2 separate regions of the Homo sapiens genome follow, and region 1 is linked to region 2. The links are contacts of gene promoters, found by promoter capture Hi-C in human tissues and cell types (Jung and others, 2019). All regions are on one chromosome and are shown on one strand. Each heading gives the region's core, a stretch centred on a gene start or on the middle of the fragment in contact. The rest is flanking DNA. Distances are from core to core; before and after follow the strand shown. Region 1 overlaps ANKRD11 (ankyrin repeat domain containing 11). Region 2 holds the start of TCF25 (TCF25 ribosome quality control complex subunit).

Region 1 (2,700 bases), core at 45-2,544, 580 kb before region 2:
TGGGTCAGAAGTCTCATTGGTGACCTCTCAAAGCCCCTCATCCCTCCTCAGCACCTGTCCCTCTTAGCTGGGGGGACAGTGTCTACCCTGATAGCCCAGTGTCCAGGAAGTGTGGCCCTCTCGAGGGGACAAGCTTTCCGTGGGGTCTGGGCCCAAAGCCCCTTCCTCTACCTCCCTGGGAGGTCTGAAGCTGGGCTCCAAGGCAGAGACCCTGAGGTTGGGCCCCAGGGACGTGGAGGTGTGTGGCCTCAGCTGCTCATCTGAACAAATGCCTTTTGTATCAATCATTTAGCACCTCTAATTTCTAGGCTTTTCTAGCAAGAGTCTTTTAGGAGACACAGGCCACGATACTGTCAACATAGGAAAATGTGCAACTCCTGCGTCCCACCGTAAAACTCGAAGACGTCAAAATACATTCTTGATTCTGCTCCACAAAGGGATGTTTCCATGGCGATATTTTCAAACAACAGAAAGTTCACGGCCGATGGCGGTTACAGCTCATGGAACTGATGGGCAGGGCCGGGTGCAGCTTTGTAGCACGGCTGCTGCTCACAGATTCTCTTCCATTTGACTAAAAACCATGCTGTCCACACCAAACATCTGGCCTCATCCGGATGTTCAAAGCCATGAAATACAGCACTTCTGGCCAAGAAGTCTAAATCACAGCCGATCTACACGAGGCGGATGGTCCACAACGCCAAGTTCCTACCCGGGCACTGAGCTCAACGCTCGCACAACTCCAAACGAGGGCGCAACCATATTCCCACTGACATCCTCCTTGGGGCAGCAAGACAAGCTCCGAACAGCCTGTCCTGGGCCAACAAGAGAAGCTGGCGGGCGCCCGCTGAGCACTGTGAGCCATCTTGTGGTGAGACTGGCTTCTCCTTCCAATCTCCAGGTTTCTCTCTCTTTCTGCCTTCTTTCTGTCAGTTACCGTCATTGATCACTTAAAGAAAGACAGGGCCTACCCCTGTCTGCTGCGTGACCTCAGCCCTCCCGCCTGCCGATGGGAGCTGGGTCATCTCTTACGCCTTTCAGCTTTGGCTTCTTCCGCAGTGTATGTGAAGGGGTCACACAGAGGTAAGGCTGTGCGTCCAGCCCTTGCCTGCACAACCTCCATGCCTTCCCCATCTCCAGGCCGGGGTGGGGTAGGGGTAGGGTGGGGTGGGGCGGAAGGACCAGTTCCACAGGAAGCCTGTGGAGGCAAACAGGGTTATGTGGCAAGGGTGGGAAGGAGCAGGGCCTGAGCCCCATGGTGGTTTCACCAGCATCCAGCGGTCACCATGGTGAACAAGAAGCCAGGAAGGAAGGAAGCAATGTCGGCAAAAGGGCTCAGATGACAACCAAACAGAACGGTTTCCCACCCTGGGCCTCCTTTCCACACACACAGCATCGTGGGTATTTTAAAATAAACAAGATCAACGTCCAAACCTGCGCTGAGGCCTGAGCTGTGTCCGTCACTCCTGCAGGGCACAGGCCTGCCTGGCCGAATGCATGGGCGGTGAGAGCACAGGGCTGGGGGGACCCCTCTGTCGAGGGGCCACAGCTCCTCACACAGCAGAGCTTTATGGATGAAAGGGCTGAGAGGCACAGACAGGCTGAGAAATGGGCCCAAAGTCCCACAGCATGGAGCCAGGAGGTAGCAGACGGCCCCTGCCCGCCCCCCTCACTTGGCTGACTGCTCCCACGGCAGCCACCACCTTTATCCTGAGTCCCGGGGTCCTCCATCAAATCGCTGAGCCTCGGGTGGTCTTGTGGACCCCAGCTTGTCTGTGTTGTGTTGACAACATGGGCCTGGCTACCGGCCTAAGTGCACTTCTGAGGGGTGTCAGGGAAGCCTTTGCTGCGGCTTGGGGATTACAGAATTTTAAACAGCAAGAACCTTCCCTTTGCTAGTCCAAGCTTCCCTTTGTATGAGAAACTGCTTACGTCTAGAGAGGAAAAATGGTTGAGAAATAGGAGGACCAGAGACCAATCACGCGGAGTTCTTAATCATGTGAAAATATTTTATTTTGACGTGCTTTTTCTTGAGTGCCTGAATGTGGTGGCTCTTAGGGTAACCCCAGAATCCTCACTGCGGCAACAAGACCTGGCCACCACCCTCACCTCGACCACCACGGCCTTCGCTGCAGCCCCACTCTGACTCCCCGGGGGCTGCTCACGTGCCAGCACCCACTGGCCAAGCATCCTCCGGCAGGACCCAAGTCCTCTGTATTCAGAGGCCGACCCTGCTTTCCAGAGACTCACGAGGTGGCAGAGAGTCAGGCTGTGGCAGGGGCCCCTGTGTATCGAGGAGAGGAGGAAGAGTCTGCAGAGGTTTCTAGGGAAGGAGATAGTGTGGAAGTGACTGTGGCTCTGGTCCTGCCTGGGAGGAGATCTACAGGGGAGGGGCCTGGCCTTGGGCTGGCCCTGCCCTGCGTGGGATCTGTGCCCTGCGTGGGATCCCTGCCCTGTGTGGGGTGCGTGGGGTCTGTGCCCTGTGTGGGGTGCCTGCCCTGTGTGGGGTGTGTGGGGTCTGTGCCCTGTGTGGGGTGCCTGCCCTGTGTGGGATGCATGGGGTCTGTGCCCTGTGTGAGGTGCCTGCCCTGTGTGGGGTGTGTGGGGTCTGTGCCCTGTGTGGGGTGCGTGGGGTCTGTGCCCTGTGTGGGGTGCTTGGGGTCTGTGCCCTGTGTGAGCTGCCTGCCCCGTGTGGGGTGCGTG
Region 2 (2,700 bases), core at 190-2,689:
CGGTTGTTCTGGTTCTACGGGGACTCACACTCCCTATCATGGGGAGACTGGGTTGTAATTCATACAGGAACACTTGGAAATGAAAGCCCACGTTAAAACCCTAAACCACGGCAGGTGCAGTGGCTCACACCTGTAATCCCAGCACTTTTGGAGGGTGAGGTGGGCAGATCACTTGAGGTCAGGAGTTCGAGACCAGCCTGGCCAACATGGTGAAACCCCATCTCTACTGAGTACAAAAATTAGCCGGGCATGGTGGCACATGCCTGTAGTCCCAGCTACTCGGGAGGCTGAGACAGGAGAAGTGCTTGAGCCTGGGAGATGGAGGTTGCAGTGAGCCGAGATTGCGCCACTGCACTCCAGCCTGGGCAACAGAGCAAGACCTCATCTCACAAAATAAAATAAAACCCTAACCCATCCTGGGAGGGGCCAGGCCGGCTCACCAGGGCTGCTGCTTGTGCTCATGAAGCCGCAGTAAGTCGGGCAGGAGGCTGCTGGCACCTGTCTTCTCTATGCCCTCCTGTCCCCATGTCCCCAACCCCAGGCACAGGAAGCTGTGCCCTCCGCCCACTGAACCCAGCACTGTCTCAGCCTCATCTACTTTATTTTTTTCATTTTTTTGAGACAGGGTCTGGCTCTGTCGCCCAGGCTGGAGTGCAGTGGCGCGATCTCGGCTCACTGCAGCCTCAGCCTCCCGAGTAGCTGGGATTACAGGCGTGCGCAGCCACGCCCAGCTAATTTTTGTATTTTTAGTAGAGGGAGTTTCACCGTGTTGCCCAACCTGGTCTCGAATTCCCGACCTCAGGTGATTCGCCCACCTTGGCCTCCCAAAGTGCTGGGATTACAAGCGTGAGCACCGCGCCCGGCCCTTAGATCGTGACAAACGCGGGCGGCCTGTCCTAGAACTGTCAGAACCACTGTCCCTAAAGAGGCCTCGGGCGGGCAGTAAGGGCCGCGTCACTCAATGCTGCTCGAGGGGCGGCGGCTCCAGGGCAGAGGCGGGCATCGACGGCTAGATCACTCGAATGACACCCTGACACGAAAAGGACCAACTAGCAACGTCCGGGACGCAGCTGAAATGCTGCAGGCACGGTGCGGGGACAGGCCCCGGCGGGCAGAACGCGGCTGCGGGTTCCGGGCCACATGGATGGGCAAGGCCGGGCAGGGCCGACTGTCGCCGGCTGCGCGCCCGTTACCCCGAATCGAAGCCCGTCATCCCCGCGGGGCACCTCTCCATGCCCGGTGCGCACGGCGCGCAGACACCCAGCTCTCCAGAGACCTGGCCCGGACCCCCCGGAGCCCGCCCAGACGCCGCCGCTGAAGCGGGAAAGTTCCGGAGAGCCGCGACGCGCAGGCGCCGCAGCCAGGTCCTGCCCCCACCCCTCGCGCCAAGAGTGCGCAGGCGCGCAGCCAGCTCCCCCGCCCCCGACCCCGCGCGAAGAGTGCGCAGGCGCGCCGACAGCCGAGTTTTCTGCGCTTCCTTCTCCCTCTCTCCAGACGTCGTGGTCGTTCGGTCCTATGTCGCGCCGGGCCCTCCGGAGGCTGAGGGGGGAACAGCGCGGCCAGGAGCCCCTCGGGCCCGGCGCCTTGCATTTCGATCTCCGTGATGACGATGACGCGGAAGAAGAAGGGCCCAAGCGGGAGCTTGGTGTCCGGCGTCCCGGGGGCGCAGGGAAGGAGGGCGTCCGAGTCAACAACCGCTTCGAGCTGGTGAGGAGCGCGGCGGCCCGGGTGGGGGTGGGGTGGCCCTTGACGTTGTGGGGCGGGGCGAGCGTCCAGCCGGGTCGGGGAGCGGGGTTGTGATGCCAGGGGTGGGAAGGGTGACGTGGGTCCCAGCCGCAGTGGGGAGGGCGGGGCCGTGCGTCGGGGCCAGGGCGACGCGGGTGGGCGGTGGCGTGGGGTGAAGACGGCGGGCCGCGGAGTTAGACTGGGTTCTAACCCCGGTGAGGTGGGCGGGGCTAAGGGATGGGGCGGGGCCGTGCTGTCGGGGCGGGGCGACCGAATGGGCGGGGTTAAGCGGGGTCCGGGTTGTGGAGGGTGCGGGGCCTTGATGCCAAGGGCGTGGCCAACGTCCGCGGGGCCGGGCCACGACGTGGGCGGGATTAAATGGGCCTGCGGCCACGTGGCTGTCGTGGGGCCGTGACGCTAAAGGGCGTGGCTAAAGACGGGGGGGTGGCGAGGCGATGGCGTGGGCGGGGTTAAATGAGGCCTGGGGCCACCGTGGGGGTGGGGCCACGGCGTAGGGGCAGGAGTCGGGTGGGGCTTCCCTTTCTCGAGTCTAGAGGGGCCTTCTCTCGGTTCCAGGGTTGAGGACTTGCCAGGCCTCTGCGAGCATTCTGCTTTAATCCTCACAACAACTCTGCCTAACCCAGGGCCTTGCTCTTCGCGCATCCCCATCAGCCTAACCCAGCGGATTAGTCTTACTCTTTGCTGCATCTCCGGCAGCTCGTTTCTGGCACAGGGAAGTAACAGTTTGACTGTATGGTTTGCTCATGCGGTCCTGTGACGTTTTCTCCTAAGCCCTGGCCTCCGTCTGTAACTCTGCCTCTGCGGGCTCTGCGATCCTCCCACCTCAGCCTCCTGAGTATCTAGGACTACAGGTGGATGTCACCACGCCCGGCTAATTTTTTTTTTTTTTCTTTTTTGTAGAGAAGAGTTTTCGCCTTGTTGCCCAGGCTGGTCTAGAACTTCTGCGCTCAAACA

Evidence for each region. Contacts are between HindIII fragments. The study calls those that stand out against the background at their distance.
Region 1: a fragment that was not itself captured here is called in contact with the fragment with the promoter of TCF25 in region 2 in 1 of the 25 tissues and cell types used here (dorsolateral prefrontal cortex).

Annotation. Positions count from the first base shown.
Region 1 is chr16:89,296,883-89,299,582 of GRCh38, forward strand. The region is part of intron 4 of ANKRD11 (ankyrin repeat domain containing 11); the gene reads right to left. LOC124903757 (keratin-associated protein 5-2-like) reads left to right here. Exons shown (of 2, transcript XM_047435030.1): 2 at 309-2,700. The coding sequence starts at 2,550. LOC105371414 (a long non-coding RNA gene) reads left to right here. Exons shown (of 3, transcript NR_136339.1): 2 at 309-1,080; 3 at 1,269-1,435. Among named protein-coding and RNA genes, the nearest start is that of ZNF778, 81 kb to the left of the region's middle. The HindIII fragment of the contact is 5,021 bases long and covers 1-2,700 here.
Region 2 is chr16:89,872,153-89,874,852 of GRCh38, forward strand. TCF25 (TCF25 ribosome quality control complex subunit) reads left to right here and starts at 1,440. Exons shown (of 18, transcript NM_014972.3): 1 at 1,440-1,707. The coding sequence starts at 1,516. It overlaps LOC112268179 (a long non-coding RNA gene), which reads right to left and starts at 1,336. Exons shown (of 2, transcript XR_002957933.2): 1 at 816-1,336. RefSeq lists enhancers at 198-1,154, 925-1,084 and silencers at 1,165-1,284, 1,755-2,224. The HindIII fragment of the contact is 23,130 bases long and covers 1-2,700 here.